2 separate regions of the Homo sapiens genome follow, and region 2 is linked to region 1. The links are contacts of gene promoters, found by promoter capture Hi-C in blood cells and fetal thymus (Javierre and others, 2016). All regions are on one chromosome and are shown on one strand. The core of a region is centred on a gene start or on the middle of the fragment in contact, and the rest is flanking DNA. Distances in the headings are between cores, read along the strand shown. Region 1 holds the start of VIPR1-AS1 (VIPR1 antisense RNA 1). Region 2 has its middle 23 kb from the start of EIF1B.

What was found. Contacts are between HindIII fragments. The CHiCAGO score rates a contact against its expected background, and 5 or more counts as called.
Region 2: a fragment that was not itself captured here is called in contact with the fragment with the promoter of VIPR1-AS1 in region 1 in 1 of 17 cell types (total B cells); the score reaches 6.0 in total B cells.

What each region holds. Positions count from the first base shown.
Region 1 is chr3:42,531,329-42,535,608 of GRCh38, forward strand. It overlaps VIPR1-AS1 (VIPR1 antisense RNA 1), which reads right to left and starts at 1,278. Exons shown (of 3, transcript NR_046654.1): 1 at 1,236-1,278; 2 at 693-767. VIPR1 (vasoactive intestinal peptide receptor 1) reads left to right here. Exons shown (of 13, transcript NM_004624.4): 8 at 143-203; 9 at 475-541; 10 at 914-1,005; 11 at 3,647-3,776; 12 at 4,015-4,056. RefSeq lists an enhancer at 2,051-2,552. The HindIII fragment of the contact is 10,773 bases long and covers 1-4,280 here.
Region 2 is chr3:40,330,130-40,334,883 of GRCh38, forward strand. No RefSeq gene overlaps it. Among named protein-coding and RNA genes, the nearest start is that of EIF1B, 23 kb to the left of the region's middle. The HindIII fragment of the contact is 3,875 bases long and covers 351-4,225 here.

The sequences.
Region 1 (4,280 bases), core at 28-2,527:
TGCAACCAAAGACAGCAGACTGACAACCCACCCTTTTCTCTCTCCCTCCCTCTCCCTGCTTTTCTCCAAAATCTCTCCCTCATGCCCTCTACCCCTGCTTCCTGTGCCCTCTCTGCTCTTTCACTCTCCCTGGGCCTGACAGGGGTACCCAGCACATTCACCATGGTGTGGACCATCGCCAGGATCCATTTTGAGGATTATGGGTGAGCTGCTGCCCCACACACTCCCCCGGCCGCCATCACTTGGGCAGGCCCCCTGGGTGGGATGATAATGCCATCTGGCCTTGGTGAGTGGACAAAAACCACAGCTCTCGGGCCAGAGGGGAGGCTGGAGGAGGACCTGGGGAGCAACAGACTCTGGGCCCGGGGTTGCTAAAGTGCTCAGGAGCAGAGCTGGGGACAACTGGGGGAGGTGCTGCTGAGTCTCTCTCTGGCTGAGGACAATCCCTCTCATTCCTCCCCACGGTCTGCTCAGGTGCTGGGACACCATCAACTCCTCACTGTGGTGGATCATAAAGGGCCCCATCCTCACCTCCATCTTGGTAAGATACCCTCCCACCACCTAGAGATGGGGAAACAGGCCCAAAGGGCAGGCAACTTAGCCCAAGGTCACATGGGAAATTAGTATCTAGGTCAGAACTGAAACGTAGCTTCCTAATGCCCAATGCAGGATCATCCCCACCCCTGTCCTACCAGTTCTTCCTTGAGCGTAAGCGGATTGGGAGCACAGTCCTTAGGGATTTGAAGGAGGTAGAGTTCCCGGATGACCTGCCCAAAGGGGAAATGCCAGAGGAGAGGTAAGATAGAGAGAGGGGCAGCAGGACCCTGGGAAAGAAGACAGGCCAGCAGTCAAGGGGCCTGAACACCTCAGCCTTCCCGCTCTGACTGCCCGAACTCGGGTCCCCACCCACTAGGTAAACTTCATCCTGTTTATTTGCATCATCCGAATCCTGCTTCAGAAACTGCGGCCCCCAGATATCAGGAAGAGTGACAGCAGTCCATACTCGTGAGTGTGGGCCTAGTGCCTCAGCCCCCAGTACCTCCATCCCCAGTCCTCAAATCATCCCACATCTCCTTGAAGTCCTCCCACCCCAAACATCCAGAGTCACCAAAGAGCCACATTGTTCTTTCCCACCTCCACCATGGCCTGGCTCAGCCCACCACCATCCCCTGCTCCAGCCCCACCCTCACCAGGCTGCACTCAGAGCCCTGCATGCTTCTCCTGCCCACACTCACCTAGCATCCTTCCCAGGTATGCATCTGCTGCCAAGCCAGGGAGCTCAAGAGGACACCGATGACCTGTGTCTTGTTCATACCATGTGCCCAGTCCCTGGCATGTGCCTCACATGGAAAAAGGGTGCAATAAACACATAGTAGATGAATGCCCTGGGGGAGACCCCAGTCCACCAATGAGACAGCCATGTTCGGGACTCAGTATTCCTCAGTAATAATGATGACACCTGCAGTTTACATGCCAGGCACACGCTAAGGGATTTCCATGCATCATGTCATTTCATCCACACAGTCCCCTGCAAAATTATCTTTACTTTACAGGGAGGAAATGACATACACTCCCTTCTCCTTGAGGGTTTTGGAGCAGGTCACCATGGGCAGGGAGAAGGGGGCACAATGTCCATGGACCAGGGCTTGGAAAGGTGTCAGGACTGTTCCCCCTGCTTGGGAGGACTGGAGGAAGAGGCAGGTTTTTTTGCGGGAGCAACAAGGCTTGAAGACAGAGCTAAAGAAACATGAAAAATATGAAAAGGGAGGCTGTGGGAAGGCAAGTAGGGTCTGCATGCTCACAGATGGGAGTAGGAGATTGAGTATCAGTGCTATTGACACAAGACAAACCTGGGACGTCCCACAAGGCCTTCCAGTCCTGGGATTCTTCTTGGCCTGGCTTCTCTTTGGAGAGTCTGTGCTGTGGTTCTAAGATTCCTGGCTAGAATGTCACAGACTGCTGGATTTAGGATTCTATTCTGGAATCCTGTGATTCTCCCTGATGAGACTAAGACTCACATTCCTGGTGTGACTGCATTCTCTCCTGCCAGGTGTGTAGGCGGAGCTTCCCTTCCTGTCTGAGAAGGAAAGGCTGGGGGGGACGGGGGGGGCATCTGCAGTCTGCTGAGGGGCAGCACATCGGGCCTGTGCACCCTTATCCTCTCCTTTGCCGATGGGACCTTATTTCCCCCAACTTACAATGGTTCAAAAGGGCCTGAATCTGAGGCAAACAGAGCTGGCCATGGTCAGGGCCAGGTCTGTGTGGTGAGACAGAAAGGAAACAGTTGTCAGCAGGCAAAAGGGGTGGGGGCAGTTGGAGATGAAGCTCCTCAAGGAGAAGCTGTCAGCTCCCACTCTACACCTCCCCATAAGCCTTTGATTTAAAGAAAGCCTCCATCTGTTAGCCTCCGGTGTGTGGGATAGTTTTGCAGCCGAAGAGGGGTGGGCATTGCTCAGGATCTTGGCATGGCTGAGAACCAGGTCCAGGAAGGAGTGGGAGGGGCAAGGCCAGCTCCTCTGCCCCCAGCTTGCTGTGGGACCTCAGGCCTTGGGCTAGACTTCCTTGGACTGACTGCTAAGGCAGGAGAGACAGAGTCAGAGACCCTCCCTATCCACACCCCACCTCTCCTAGCCAGGGAGCAATGGGTTCACACTGCCTGGATCAGCTATGAGGTCAGGTGGCTGGGAGGCCTGAACCAGGAAGAGCTCTGGGCCATGGGAGGCGGGTGAGCATTTAGAATGAATGCTGACCCTACTGAGCACACAAAGCTGTGAAGAAGGAGCTGGTCCTTCAGAGCACGCTGGGAGTATATGCACTGGTGTGGGGAGGTAGGAGGAGGGGGATGCAACCCCAGAGAAGGTGGCAACTTCTGGAGAAGCAGACACAGCAGAAAAAACACAGATAGAGGGCGATACTGATTAATTTTGGGTTGTCCCTGGTGATCAGGTATGAACTTGGGTCCCCATCACCCTCCCAAGTGGCCCTGGGCATATGTGGTCAGCACCCAGTTAGAAAGACTTGTTTCCTAGTACGTCTTCTCTCATGGTCTCTCATGGATGCACTATACTTCATAGTACCCAAAACACTTCCAAGTTCATAGTGGGCCTCTGTTTCTATAATTTGACTATGTCGAGCATACACTTACTGCATTATACAAATTGGAAAAACTGAGACCAGGAGAGGAGGAACCAGAATCTCTTGTTGCCTAAGAGATTTTCTACTGCTCTTGATGGCTGAGAGCATCCTCTACTGCAATGATGAGGTAAGCCTCTCCTAGACCAGGGGGCCCAGGCAACAGAACTCCCAATAGTGGATTTCAGCTAACATGTCCCTGTTAGCATCATTCTCACTGGCCTCTCCTTTACCTCTTACCCTCTCTCCTCCAGAAGGGTGAGAATAGAGGGGGTTTCTTTCTCTCTCATGCTTCCCTCCAGGCCAGGAGGGCTGGGGGCAGAAGGGCAGAGGCACTGCAGCTGTGGAACAGGAGCAGACAAGGGCATAATATTCAGAGGAACCTACAGTCCATCCTCATACTTCCTGGTCATTGTCCCCATCTTCTGTGCCTCCAGCTGCCCCCATGCCACACCCTATCATATCCACATGTGTGGACACACATACCCATGGCCTGTCCCTCCCCTGTCTCCAGAAGGCTAGCCAGGTCCACACTCCTGCTGATCCCCCTGTTTGGAGTACACTACATCATGTTCGCCTTCTTTCCGGACAATTTTAAGCCTGAAGTGAAGATGGTCTTTGAGCTCGTCGTGGGGTCTTTCCAGGTATGGGCTGTTGACTTAAGGCTGCATTCTTCCCTGGCTTTTAAGGGAATTCAACCTGGAGTCTTGGCCCTTGCCACTGGATTCCAACCTTTTTACTGTAATAAGTATTAGATAAGCACCTACTTTGTGCTTAGCTCTTTCCTTAACCAGGGGAACACAGGGGCTGGAGCCAGGGGTGGGGCAGGGCTGGGGGCTTCTGGTCTGTCTACCTCACCTCTCCTGTCATCTTCCTTCTCAGGGTTTTGTGGTGGCTATCCTCTACTGCTTCCTCAATGGTGAGGTAAGCCCCTCCCAGTCCTTGGGGCTTAGGCAATGGAACTCCCAGGACCAGGGTCCGGAAACATTGGTGGGATATGTGCAGAGCAAGGACGGGTTAAACCTTGCTGCTCCAAGTATGGTCCTCAAACTAGTAGCACTGGTGTCACCTAGGCCCTTGTTAAAAATGCGCATCTCTGGGACCACCCCAGACCTGCTGGCTTAGAATCTGCATTTTAATAATTATTT
Region 2 (4,754 bases), core at 1,038-3,537, 2.2 Mb before region 1:
GCAGGGAGTGGGGCTTCCTGCTTGGCAACAGGGGAAACCACATGCACTGAAACCCTCATCTGGGGTCTGCTTCTCCTGGGAGGATGAATATAGGGAGGAAAATCAGCAGGATCACGAAGACATTACAATGTTGTGCACACCAAAATTTAACATAAGAATTCCCTTCCCTCTAGCAATTCACTTCTGGGAATTTATGACAAGTAAACAATCAAGCCGTGGGACAAAATTGAATGCATTCAGATGTTCAATGCACTATTGTTTATAACACTGAAAATTTTGAAACAACAGGAGAATGGTTAAATCAATGAGAACTGAAAAGGATTTAGGCAGGCAAAGAGTGGGAGGTGGCAAGCTTCAGAAGGAGGGCTTGGCAAACGCAAAGTCTTCCCGTGAGAAAGCAGTGGACCTGAGTGATTGGAGCACAGGATGGGGACATAGGTTGGCATGAGAGGAGTGAAGCTGAGAAGCAAGCCAATTAGACAGGGCCTCACAGACCATGGCAAGATGCATGAATGCTATCTGAGGGCATTGATGAGTTCCAAGCATGGGAGCAGAACAATTGGATTTATTCTAAGAAGCTGATTATGGCTGTTAGTCAGAGAGAGGAACGTACAGAAAGCAAGAGCAGAGGCGAAAAGGCCAATGAGAGGCTACTACACGTGGAATGATGGTGGTAAAGAGGCAGAGAAGTGGGTGGACAAGAGACTCGCTTGGAGATAGAATTAACAGGACTTGCTGTTGTGTTGGCCATAAGTGGCAAGGAAAAGATGACTTCCAGGATTTTATCTTTGGAAATTGGGTGGCTGGGAGTGACATTATTAAAATGAGGGAGGCTGGGGTAGAAAGACAGGATTGAGGAGTGGAAACAAGAATTCCATTTTGAACATGTTGAATTTTTTTTTTTTTAATAGAGACAGGGTCTCACTATGTTGCCCAACTGGTCTTAAAATCCTGGGCTCAAATGTTCCTCCCACCTCAACCTCCCAAAGTGCTGGGATTACAGGTGTGAGACATCACACCTACCCTGAACATGTTAAGTTTTAAATGCCTAAGAGACATCCAATCAGAGATGTCAAGCAACTAGTTGGATTTGTAAGTCTGGAGCTCAGAGAAGACATAAATTCAGGAGGTATCAGCCCATAGAATATTTTTAAAGCCATGAATGAATGAGTTTCTTTAGGAATGTATAAAGAGGGCCCAGAAGAAATCCATATGGAACACTAAAAACGCTAGTTTTGAAGAAGTATATCTGGTGTGACATCATTTTGGTTAAAAAACAAAGCCCCAAAATTCCATCATAACATAAACGCAGAAGATATCTGCATAAATAAATATTCATCTAACGGTTTATGGGGGTTATCTCTGGATAGTTGGGAGCAAAACGCTCATTGACACCCATGAAAGTCAGGTCTATGCCCAAGAACCTTTTTGCACCTGGTCTTTCCCAAATGGCTGCTTAAGGGACCCAGGAGGAGGAGCCTGGAAGTTATGGTGCCCGATTTGATGATGAACCTAGGAGAAGCCACTCTGCATTTGTTACCCAAGGGAATAGGAGGAATGGGAGGGCTTTCATTTTCTCAGTTGTATATTTCTGTCAACATTAAAACTTTTATAAAGAACATCATTATTACTTTTGTAGATAGAGAAAAACAATAAATAAAATTATTTTAAATGGTGGCATCCATTGTTGGTGAAGCCACTGTACAGTGGAAACGCACATCTCTTTGGAGAAAATGTGAATTGGTATGACTTTCTGAAATGACATTTGAATGAATTTGAATGAATTTCATGCAAATGAAATTTTATGTCAAGCTCCTTAAAATGTTCATATCTTTTCACATTCAGGCACCTATGCTAGGGAAATAATCAGAGATGGGTGTTAGGAACCATGGAAAGATTTCAGTAGTTTTAAGATAACAATTTGGCCTGGGTCCATGAACCCTACAAATGCCCCCAACTTGGCTGGGTCCAGCCATCCCTTATCTCCATAACATCTTTAAGGGAGCTGTACACACAAGGAACAAGGAATGTATGGGACACCAAATGACCACTGACGATTCCCTACCTCATGTCTGCACCTTTGCCTGCAGAACTCCATGGAGTGCGTGCTTCTTAGCCCAAGGCCCCAGGGAAGTTTCTCCCAAGCCCAGTTTCTGGATGAATACACATGAAATGGTGAGGTGGCTGAGTCCACTCTGGAAGACCGGGCCTCCTTGCGTGGTTGAGAGGAGAACATCAGAGACAGGGACCATGCTCAAATGCACCAGCTTTTAATAACTGGGTTTGGTACCATGGCTTGTCACCCCACTCCACCCCAACCACCAGAATAAAAACGTATTATTAGACTCTAGCAGAGGCCGACTCACCCTGAAACAAACACACTGGGACTTTCTGGTGCCTCGCCTGTCCAGGCCTCCTCCTTGCCCCTGAGCCTAGTATTGCATTCATTCATATGCTTTTATTCCTTTCTTAAAGGGGGTCTCTAAAACTGCATAAGTCTCAGGTCCCAGCAGACTGGGATGTTCTTGCTTTCAGAAATTTGAGATGGGAAATAAGAAAATAATCCAGCCGTTGGTGGTAGGAGCTGCAGCTGTCTGAAAGGAGGGATCATGAGGGACCCTGAGGAGAGCAGAGCAATGAGCACGCCAGAGATTTGTTTCAGCTGGCCTTGTGAGAGCACTAGGCCTGGAGAGTGAAAAGGAAGATGCAAGTGCCGGCAGAGCTGCGGTGTTGCGGGGAGGAGTGAATGAGTGAGTGTGATGATGCATGACTGCCTGAGCTTGCACTCTGCACAGTGAGTGCTTGCTGAACTTCGTCGGTATAGTTATTGTTAGCACTGCTGATATTACTGTGAAGGTCCGCGCACTCCATTTCCTGGGGTCCTTGGAGCCTGGTTCTGCTCTGGATAAAATGGTCAGGGAAGTCTAACACGCAGCTCTGAGTACACCCCCTGAAGGGGACAGAAGCTGAGAAATTGACCCTCCTCCACTTCACACGTACACCAGAATAGGGAGACCACGGGACAAAGCGCTCATTGACACCCATGAAAGTTAGGTCTGTCCCCAAGAACGCCTTTCCACCTGGTCTTTCCCAGATGGCTGCTTGAAGGGCTCAGGAGGAGGAGCCTGCAAGTCATGGTAACCGATTTGATGATGAACCTATGAGAAGCCACTCGCATTTGCTACCCCAGGCCACCCACATTGGTGTTCTTTGTTTCTACTACTAGTTTACAACATCTTTCTATTCTACTGCCAGGGAGGAAAAAAGGTGTTCCACAAAACTGCCCAAGAGGACATACCTAGGAGGAGCGTCTGACATCAGCGGGGATCTTTGTGCTGCCCTTTCAAACCCTCGCCTCACTAATTACCCAGCAGGAGACAGCCAGCTCCATCCATATTGGAGTTTCACCTTTAATTAAACTTTAATTCACTCATGCCTTATCCTTGTGGCCACATGCTGCTGGGAATCAGTGCCACAGCAACTTGGACCCAGGCCAGAACCTTGCAGAAGAACACCCAGAGGCATCACCAAGTAAAAATAGACTTTCCTGACTATTAAATCCAACACTGTACTCAGGGAACCAACAAGAGTGCTCTCAAGGAAAGCTGTGATCTGCCTATAGGCAAAGAATGGATGATTTCAGTAATTCCTCCCCTCCCCTCCCCGCCCCAACTACACAGGGAGACTCAAACAAACTAGGATTATACAATTACCCATTTAACTTCATCTCATTTCCGATAAGAAGTAATCAGGGGAAGCATAAGAAAACCAAGAACTTCCAACCACTCACATTTATGAAGTGCTAACTCCGTGCCAGGCATGATGGGGAAATGAGATGAAATCAGCTTTCTGTAGACATTGTCAGGGCCCTGCCTACTGTGCACCTGGCAGTCACCTACAGTTCCCACAGGCCCACAGCTTCCTACCCTACACATCTGCATGTCTCTGACAGGCCATTCTCTGGCTGTGGGCATGTGCGGCAAGTCAGCAGGACTGCCCGGAAGTGCCAGGGAGTTAATGCTCCAGGAGTGGTTCCAATGAGGGACAGGAGCTGGTGGACAAACACCCCAGCTTCCTCAACTATTGGTTCCACTTCTTCTCTCAGAATGTCTCTCAGAAGGTCCCCCAGGAGGGAGCCCCAGGTGACTGCCCTAGCCTCCAGCTCATTAATTCACCTTGTATTGGCTTTCATTCTTCTCTGACTCACTTCCCTTCTCTCTCACCAAGCTTTTAGGAATCACTTTTCAGATAAACTACTTGCACCCAATCCTAGTCTCAGTGTCAGCTTTTGGAGGAACACTAACGAAGACACAATTTTAGTCTTAACCTTGATGATAATGACACAAGTTAACTTTAATAAACGTGAAGGCCTAAAACTCAAATATCCATAAGCCAAAAGCCAATGTGATCAAATATCTAAGGCCAAACCCAAGTGGGGCCTAAGGGGCCCTGGAGAGCAGGTATCCTCTTTGGGAGGTAGCTACTAGTCTACTCAAGAGGCTGTTTCCATGCAAGAAGGTGGGGCCAGTATTGTTAGAGCTTCCAATTTTTAAAGAGATGCTGGAATTCTGCATTTTTATATGGACTTTCCCAATTTTTGAATGTTGAAATCAACTCAAAAATTTGAAAGCACTATGAAGCCCAAGAGAAATCCATCCATGGACAAGAGCATGCCCACAGACCCCAGTTTGTGACCTCTGGTTCCACTGGATTTAATAATCCAGCAGCCACTGTTGACCCTTCCCAGGGCAGTT